2 separate regions of the Homo sapiens genome follow, and region 2 is linked to region 1. Evidence: promoter capture Hi-C in 16 types of primary human blood cells and fetal thymus (Javierre and others, 2016). All regions are on one chromosome and are shown on one strand. The core of a region is centred on a gene start or on the middle of the fragment in contact, and the rest is flanking DNA. Distances in the headings are between cores, read along the strand shown. Region 1 holds the start of SYTL1 (synaptotagmin like 1). Region 2 overlaps AHDC1 (AT-hook DNA binding motif containing 1).

The links. The method cuts DNA at HindIII sites, captures the fragments that hold promoters and counts their contacts. A CHiCAGO score of 5 or more calls a contact.
Region 2: a contact is called between a fragment that was not itself captured here and the fragment with the promoter of SYTL1 in region 1, in 1 of 17 cell types (M1 macrophages). The highest score is 5.1, in M1 macrophages.

What each region holds. Positions count from the first base shown.
Region 1 is chr1:27,338,791-27,343,271 of GRCh38, forward strand. SYTL1 (synaptotagmin like 1) reads left to right here and starts at 3,232. Exons shown (of 15, transcript NM_001193308.2): 1 at 3,232-3,360. RefSeq lists enhancers at 2,853-3,112, 3,643-3,692, 3,867-4,481. The HindIII fragment of the contact is 10,600 bases long and covers 2,478-4,481 here.
Region 2 is chr1:27,562,195-27,566,675 of GRCh38, forward strand. All of the region lies in intron 3 of AHDC1 (AT-hook DNA binding motif containing 1), which reads right to left. Among named protein-coding and RNA genes, the nearest start is that of AHDC1, 40 kb to the right of the region's middle. RefSeq lists an enhancer at 680-1,407. The HindIII fragment of the contact is 267 bases long and covers 2,318-2,584 here.

The sequences.
Region 1 (4,481 bases), core at 1,982-4,481:
GAAATGAGAGGTGCTGTGATGCGAAAGGAGAATGGCCGCGGAGGTGAAAAACAAGCTCTCCTGACAGCAGCAGGCCTGTGAGATGGCTATTGTCCCCACTTCATAAAGGAAGAGAGTGAGGCTTACAGGGATTGTCATTGATCCCAGGCCACAGGGAACCATGCGGCAGAGCCAGATTTTAACCCAGATCTGCTGGCCTCTAGGACCCTGCCTCTTAATGTCCCTCTTAACAGAGGGATGTTGCCTAGAGACTGGCTGCAGCGCAGGGGCACTGAACTCTGGAGGAGGCTGAGCTAGTCCTGGAGCTGGGGAAAAGTATTCCCACAGGGAGCACAGAAGGCCCAGGGGTGTTGAAGGACAGGAAATAGCCCACAGCTAAGGCTCTACGGGTATAGGTGACGAAGGGGAGAAAGCCAGAGTAAGGGCAGCAATCCTGAGGGTCAGGCTGAGGGCCAGGCTGTCCTGGGAAGTGGTGAGACTTCCATCTCAGGACGTGTCTAAAGGGGACTGGACTGGTTTAGAAATGTATGAATGGGCCCGAGGGATGGCCTGGCTGTCTGCTGGCACCTTCCAAACCAGAGGATGACAAAGAAAAGTACGTTTGAAAGTTGTGCAACATAGGGCCAGAGTGGCCTTGTGTGGCCGCAAGGAGGCAGGAGAAGAGGAGGCTTCCAGAAGAGGCTGAGCGGGGACTGAGACCTGGGCAGGGGGAGGACAGCAGAGACACACAGATGGGAGGGCACCTGGAGTGAAGTGTGGACAGCATCTGGAGGTGGCAGGAAGCAGCAGGAGGCCAGGGGCCAGGATGATGGGGGCTGGTTACAGAGGTGGAAACTTGGAAATAGGTTTCAAGTGGGGAAGAGGCCAGAGGAATGCAGGTTGAGACACAGCAGGAGAGATGGCTGGAAGTATCAGCGTCAGGGAGTCACAGCTATAGGAAGGACAGGAGAGCAGAGAAAGGAAGGGAAATTTAGAAACCCGAAGACCAGATAATGAAGTTTCATGCCTTCCAGGAGGAAGAGCTGCTAAGGAGGTGAGAGGAGGGCAGAGAAACATCCTTGGGGGCGCCAGGACCAGGATGGCAGGAAGGGGTGTGGATGTTCTTGGCCACTCTCCTTCCATTTTGAGGGCCTTAATGAAGGAGGCAGCATCACAGTAATGGTCCCACAGCAGCTGCTCCATGGGTATTGCATGTGTGGGTGCATAAATGCATTAATCAAGAGTACTGGGGTCTGGGCAAGGTGGCTCACGCCTGTAGTCCTAGCACTTTGGGAGGCTGAGGCAGGCAGATCACATGAGACCAGGAGTTCGAGCCCAGCCTGTCCAACATGGTGAAACCCCATCTCTACTCAAAATACAAAAATTAGCCAGGCGTGGTGGCGGGCGCCTGTAGTGCCAGCTACTCGGGAGGCTGAGGCATGAGAATCACTTGAACCCAGGAGGCGGAGGCTGCAGTGAGCCAAGCCAGCCTGGGCGACAGAGCAAGACTCCATCTAAAAAAAAGAAAAAAAAAAGTCTGCAAGGATCTCACTGAATTTTAGTGAAAACCCTCTAAGGAGAGATTACCCCCATTTAACAGATGAGAAAAATAAGATTAATTTGCAAAAAATAAGTAGGGAAGCCTCCACTGTGGTTCTGAGGTGGAGGAGGGTCCTCTGTCTCTCAGTGGTGGTGGGAGTCGGTTCTGATTACAGGAAGGAAGAGTGGGTGTTTAGTTTTCTTTTCTTTTCTTTTCTTTTTTTTTTTGTGACGGAGTCTCGCTCTGTCGCCCAGGCTGGAGTGCAGTGGTGCGATCTCGGCTCACTGCAAGCTCCACCTCCCAGGTTCATGCCATTCTCCTGCCTCAGCTACTCGGGAAATAGCTGGGACTACAGGCAGCCGCCACCACGCCCAGCTAATTTTTTTTGTATTTTTAGTAGAGATGGGTTTTCACCGTGTTAGCCAGGATGGTCTTGATCTCCTGACCTCGTGATCCACCCGTCTCGGCCTCCCAAAGTGCTGGGATTACAGGTGTAAGCTACCACGCCCAGCCTTGTTTGCTTTTCTGAGACGGAGTCTCGCTGTGTTGCCCAGGCTGGAGTGCAGTGGTGCGATCTCGGCTCACTGCAACCTCCGCCTCCTGGGTTCAAGCGATTCTCCTGCCTCGGCCTCCCGAGTAACTGGGACTGCAAGCACCTGCCACCATGCCCGGTTAATTTTTGTATTTTGAGTAGAGACGGGGTTTCACTATATTAGCCAGACTGGTCTCAAACTCCTGTCCTAGAGTGATCCGCCCACCTCGACCTCTTAAAGTACTGGGATTACAGGCATGAGTCACTGTGCCCAGACTGGTTTTGTTTAGAATCCACCCCTTGTCCTGCCTCTCCCAGGGGTCTATGAGGAGCCCACTAATCTTTAATCCATGGCCCTAGGTTCAGGGGAGGGGGTTGGGCCAGGGCAGGCCATGGGAAGTGAAGTGGACTTGGGGGGAGTCAGAAAGCTTTGGTGTGGCCTCTTGTGCCCAAGACAACCCAGGAGGTTCATGGTCCTGAAGCCAATGTAATCTAGGGCCCAAACCTTCTAATCTCAGGGTGGGCAGAATCTAGGTGTAGAATGGGGTGAGTTCAGGGGGGCTCCACATAGACAGAGGGTGTGGGACCCTCACCTTGGCACTAGAAGAGTTCAGGCCTCCTCAAACAGATGGGGCTCAGGACAGCAGAGGGGACAGAGAGGGCTGCTCTGCCAGCATGTCCCAGAAGTGCATGTGGATATAGAGGGCAGCAGCTGCTGAGATGGCCGTGGGCATTAGGCTATGCTGGAGTGGGGACACCTCACCCCGACTATGCCAGCTCGCACCGGGCACTTTCACTTCCCTTAGTATAGGCTCCTTGCACTCTGCTACCCACAGTTTGCATCAGAAGAAATGGAAGAGACCTGCTTAAGGTCACATCACACACCCACTGGCAGAGCAGGGACTCTGCACAGGGTGGTCTAACTGCAAAGTCTGCCATCCTGCCATTCCCCTTGGGGCTGGAAAAGAAAGGTTTCTAACTTGCTTTCAAAGCGAGTTCCTATCAGCCCCGTTGTGGGCAAGGTGGGGCTGCTACCCGTTCTAGAGGGCCTGCTCAGTGGAGCTGGGGCCAAGCTGGGCCTCTCCAGTCGGCTGCGGGGGCGCACCCCCGGGCGCTGGGAGTCCAGGCCCGGTTTTGCATCAGGCCCTGCCGAGGTGTTTCCTCCTCCTCCGTGTGGGGCAGCTGCTGGCTGGGCTGCCTGTTGAGTCAGCCTTCTTCCCTCACGGCTCTTCTCCCGGTCCCTGAAACTCGGCTGCCAGGGGAGCTGGAGCCACCTGCGAAGGTGTCCTCCCATACTGGACCCCTACAGGTAACACGTGTCGGTGCCAGGGTCCCCTGCCAGGGTCCAGAGACGCAGGCACTGCCACCTGGTATCCTGAGCACCCTCCAGCACCTTGGGGTTGGGGGAGGTGGGCACATGTCTGGAACTGGAACAGCTGGACAGATGGACAGACCCTCCTCTTGACCAATGGGTCTGTCCCACCGTGTCAAAACAGCAGAGAAGACCAAACTCCTACCTAACTCTGGTAGGAGATTCTGCCTCTGGTTGGTAGGAGAGGGGACTTCAGGGAGGGGGCACTGCTGAGGACGCTGGGCTGATGCCCATGGCCCAGCTCAGGCAGGCCTGAAGGACAGAAATAGGCTCAGTTCTGCCGAACGTCCCCCCGGCCTCCATCCACACTCAGACACACACACCTGGTGGCCCCCAAGGCACCAGGGGACACCCCACAGCACACAGCCCAGTCACACATACAGCACAGGAGGAAATGCACAATGCATACTGTACACACCCCACACGGCGCTGTCACCTAGAAAGTCACTGAACACACCACACAGACAATATAGTCACCATGCAGCATCACACTGCAACAGGACACAAAGACACACAGCAACTACACAGCTCACAGACTCACGCAACGCAGACATGCCCACCAGACTCGGACCCACACAGCCACACAACAGGGCACAGAGAGGGACGTGGGCTCACACCCCAATCCACAGGGGAGGCCGAACGTGGGCTCACACCCCAATCCACAGGGGAGGCCGAACGTGGGCTCACACGTTGGCCACAGAAGTCCAGGGAAACTGCTGTTGTGGAGCACACAGGTATCCACAGAGTGAATGCACACCGTGCAGCCGTGCTGAGGCCTTCTGCTCCTGAGGGTGTCAAGAGGGATCGCTGGGGCTCGGCCACTGACTCAGCTGGGAGGGGACAGAGCATAGCAGGCGGCGGACACAAGCCAGGACCTGCCCGCCAAGCTGCCTCCGCCGGTCTCAGCCCCACCTGGAGCCGTGGCAATGGAAGGGGCGGGGAAGAGAGGAGAGGCCGCCCAGTGGGCTCAGGACACAGCCCTGACCAAGTCATGGGCCCCTTGCCACGTCTACATGCCCCTCAGCGCTGGGCAAATGCTTTCTTTCCGGAGTCACTGT
Region 2 (4,481 bases), core at 1,201-3,700, 220 kb after region 1:
GGACGCGCCCAAGCTGGCTCGGCGGGGGCGGCCAGTGCGCCAAGCCTCCCGCCTCCTGACCCCCGAGCCTGGGAGAGATAACAGGCCCGAATAGTGCTGACTTGCGGTTCAGAAATCCAATATCCTCCCCGGTGCACTGATCGACTGACTACCTGAGCTCCCGGCCCGCGCAGAGCTGCCCCGATTAATCCTGTGGCTCCAGAGCCTTAATTAGTTTAACAGTTTCAGGGGCAGGAGAGGCAGGAAATAGGGTCCCCAGGCCCTCAGGGACACAGCCCCCTGCCTCCCATGCAAACCCTGCCTTGGTGCCCCACCTCACAGACACACACCTGCCCTGGCCCTAAAGGCCCTTCTCCACACCATCTGAAGAATGCTGGGTCCCTCCCCCTGGGGAACAGTCCCACGGGCTGACATATGGGTGAGAGGGTAGATCATGCGGGACTGAGCACCCCCCAGCTCCCACTTGTCCCTCTGCTCAGGGCCCTAAGCATTTCCTCTGGCCAGCCCTTTGGGGCTCTGTGGTCTGCATGGGAAGGCCCCACCAGCTGCCAGCCCCGTATCACCAGAAAACATGTCGTCTCTTTAGAGTGAGACACGAGCTCCCAAGTTACTGACAACTTCCCAACAGCATGAGAGAATCACACATGCCACTCCCCACAACAGCCTGCGACGGGCACATGGTGACATCTCACACACACAACAGCCAGAGACAGGCGCACAAGTTGGTGACAACCCTCCTAACGGGATGAACTAAGCACATAACCTGTCGCTTCCTCCAAACATGAGATGGGCACACCTGACACACCCTCGACAGCATGGGGCAGGCGTCTGTTACCCCTCACAGTGGCATAACTGACACGCAACCAGGCACCCCCACACCCACTAATGCACAGAGAACCTGTTACACAGCTGACCAAGACACACACACACGCACGCACGCATGCATGCACACACCCACACAAAGAACCTGTCACATAGTTGACCAAGACACACACACATGCACACACACACAGAACCTGTCACACAGCTGACCAAGACACACACACACGCACGCATGCATGCACACACCCACACAAAGAACCTGTCACATAGTTGACCAAGACACACACACATGCACACACACACAGAACCTGTCACACAGCTGACCAAGACACACACACACACACACACACACGTGGGACAAGTCCCATCTTCCAGGTGTGAGGAAGGCATGGACCCCTCCACCCACCACACAGCATGAGGCAGGGACATAACCTCGCCCCTGCCTGGGAATCCTCCCTGCAGACTGTGGGATGGGTACACAACATGTCACCTCCCCGGCTGCCTTGGACAGGTGACAGCCCACCTCACCCCTCCCCCATCACTGTCACCAGCCTGGGTGGTGCCGTCCCTCTGCCTGCAGAGGCGTCACAGCTCACACGGCATGAATGTCACCCCAGCACTGCCAGAGCCGGGCACAGCCACACATTGCCCCAGTGACAAACACCACTGGCCCCAGAGGAGGTGAAGGCACACAGGGCTCTGGTGTGACCTTGGCCTCTGGACACCAGGAGGGGAGGTGCTGTGGCTTCCCGCCCAGTGGCGGGTGCTGGGGGAGAGGAGTGCTGGGGAGGAAGCTGCCTGGACACACTGACTACCTGGAAATGCCACCTCCCCCAGCCCTCACTCCACTCCATTTCTTATTCACTGTAGTTGTGTATCTAGGGAGGGGGCTGAATGAGTGGTGGAGGGAGGGCTGTCCTGAGGCGCTGTTACTATGAGACTGCTTAGAGATCAGTGGGGAGTAGGGCGGTTAGGGGTTGCTATCACCATGTGCTCAGTGGGAAGAGTATGGGATAATGGCTTGAGACCCCCATAGCTTCCAGGGGAGCCCTTCTTCCTTACAAAGGCCCCCTCTCCAAACTTCAGGCCACAGAGCTGGGGACAAGGAGGCCAAAGTCCAGGAACATGACTCACCCAGGGAACAGGCCCAGCCTGCTGGCCATAGTGGTGAGGGAGGCCAAGAGCCAAGAGGCCTGGGTTCCAGTCTGAGCTCCTCCAGGGCCAAGCTGGGTGACCTTGGAGCAGCAGCTCAGCCTCTTTGGCTTCGGGGAGGGGGGAAGGGGCCGCAGTGAGAGAAGTGCCAGGGTCAGAAAGAAGAAGCTGAAGCTGGAGACCAGCAGGCAGAACTTCAGGCCACAGAGGGCTCCAGCCCGCCTCCCCTGCTCCCCTGCTTCCTCACAAGGAACCTCATCTTCCTCATCTGTACAAAAGGGACAAGAGTGCCAGCCTCATGAGACAAGGTAGCATAAAGTGGGCCGCTCCTCAAGAAATGGGAAGCTTCTGATTGAAGAGAGGGAGAAATAGACTAAGAGACTTGCCCAAGCCACAGAGCAAATTAGGATCAGCTGAACTCAGCCTCCATCTCCTGGCTCCCCACCTGGAGCTGTTTCTTTAAGACTGCTTGGAGGTCAAGTGTGGAGGGGGACAGGGGAGATGTTGGGGTGTTGTTGGATGCAGTGCCTCCCTGCCGCCCGATGAAGACCAATGAATCTGATAGGAGTCCACCATGCCCTACCTTTACCCTAAACCCCACTTGGCCCAAAGCTTGGACAAGAGGAGTGGCTCTAAGGGGAGGGAGGCACCCCACCTCCCACCCCATCATGACCAGCAGCAGCACCTGGTGCTTGGAAGGACTAGAGGACCTGAGATGTCAGTGTCTAGGGCCCCTCGTTTTACAGGAGCCCAGAGAGGGAAAGGCCTAGCCTGAGGTCACACAGCACGACAGCACAAGAGCCTAGAGTCCTGGCCACGGACAGCCTCAGAGCAGAGTCCCCCTAGCCCCTGGGGGTGGCTGGAGCTGGGGGGCCCTGGGGGACTGAGTAAAGCGTGGCGACAGATGGCCTGCCGAGGCAGCGGCGATCTGGGCGGCTGGCAGGCATGCTCGCTCCCGCGCAGGGAAGCGGCTAATTTTAGCTGAGGCCTCGATGCCAGCTTTGTTCCCCCCACCCACCCGCCGAGGGGGCCCAGCATGCCTTGCGTGCAACCTGCCTCCCCCAGGCACCCCTACTCCCCCGCCTGGCCCCTTGGTGAGTAGTGCCCAGACCCCAGGATCCTAGAACGGTCTGCCTGACCAGGCCTCACCACACCCAGAGGTGAGGCCTGACTCCCCTACCCCAGGGCCTGTTTGCCCACGACTCCAAGCTCATTCCATGAAGAGGGGCGAGAGAGGAAGGACAGAGGCCACTGCCCAGACTGGGAGGGCGGGCCAGACAGCAGGGGCTGCCAGTCTTGAAGGGAGGCGAGGCACTGTCCTCCACCCAACCCTTAAGGAGACAGGACCCTGATTCCACCCATGCCCTGGACAAACATTCTGTCTGGTGTCCCCCGGCGCTGGTGAGCAAGGGGCGGGAGTCACTCTAGTCTTTCCTTGTTCCTCATAACTTTGAGTTTGTTCCAGGAACTCAAAGCACTTTAAAGAAGTCAGACATGAAGCAAGGATAGTATCCCTATACCATCTGGGGAAACTGAGGCACAGTCTGAACTTGCCATCATTTTAGCAAGGGAAGGGACAAATCCCAAGAATCAGTGAGGCCTGTTCTCTAGAGAGCTTCTTGGGCCAGTTTAGCTCCTGGAACTATCTTCTGTTCCTACCCTGGGCTAGTGGAAGGTAGACTAGATGGATGGAGCCCATCCCCTAAAACCCTGGAAAGGCAGACTCACACTCTTGTTTCCTGGTGCCACACTCTCTGTAGGCTCTTCAACCTTGCACCCTCCATTTCAGGTTCAACCACATAAGCCCAGTGGGGCTTCCAGGACATCTGGCCCCTACTAAAAAGAGGGATCCTTTGGGGTGACTCTGGAGCCCTGCCCCCTGCACCAGCTCCCCAATCTTCATAGGCCTGGGAAGGAAACAACCTGGTAGGAAATAGAGTAAGGAGAACTGAAAGGCCCAGCTCTGAAAGAAAGATATGTATTTAGAAGGACAAAGTCAGAAGAAAGACAGGGGGCGGGAGAAATCAAGGCAGAGATTCAGATCCAGGAAGAGAGACAGAAAGATGAAGGACACTGAGGCAAGAGAAACAGGGCAGAAAGAGGCAGAAGGAGAAAAAGATCTGGAGGGAGGGGGCGAGAGCCAGAGAGGGAGAGAGAGGGCGACCATGCCAGAGGAAGGAAAACAGCAAGAAAGAGACTCAGGAAGAGAGAGAGACAAGGAGAAAGAAAAAGACAAAAGAGAGAGACAGGCAGGATGATGCAGAGACAAAGACACACGCACAGGGGGGAAGAGATGGAGAAGGAACCTGAGGAGTCTGCACAGACAGGCGGAGGCACAGAGCACCAGCGACCCGGGAGCTGGAGACAGACAGAGGGACTGACACACCCAGAGCCCCACAGCGACAGTCGGAGGGTGAGACACACTCAGATGGGGTGGGAAGAGGGGGTGACACTACTAAGTGTTAGAGTGTGGGGGGAACAGCAGTAGGCAGAGGTGAGGAGGGAGG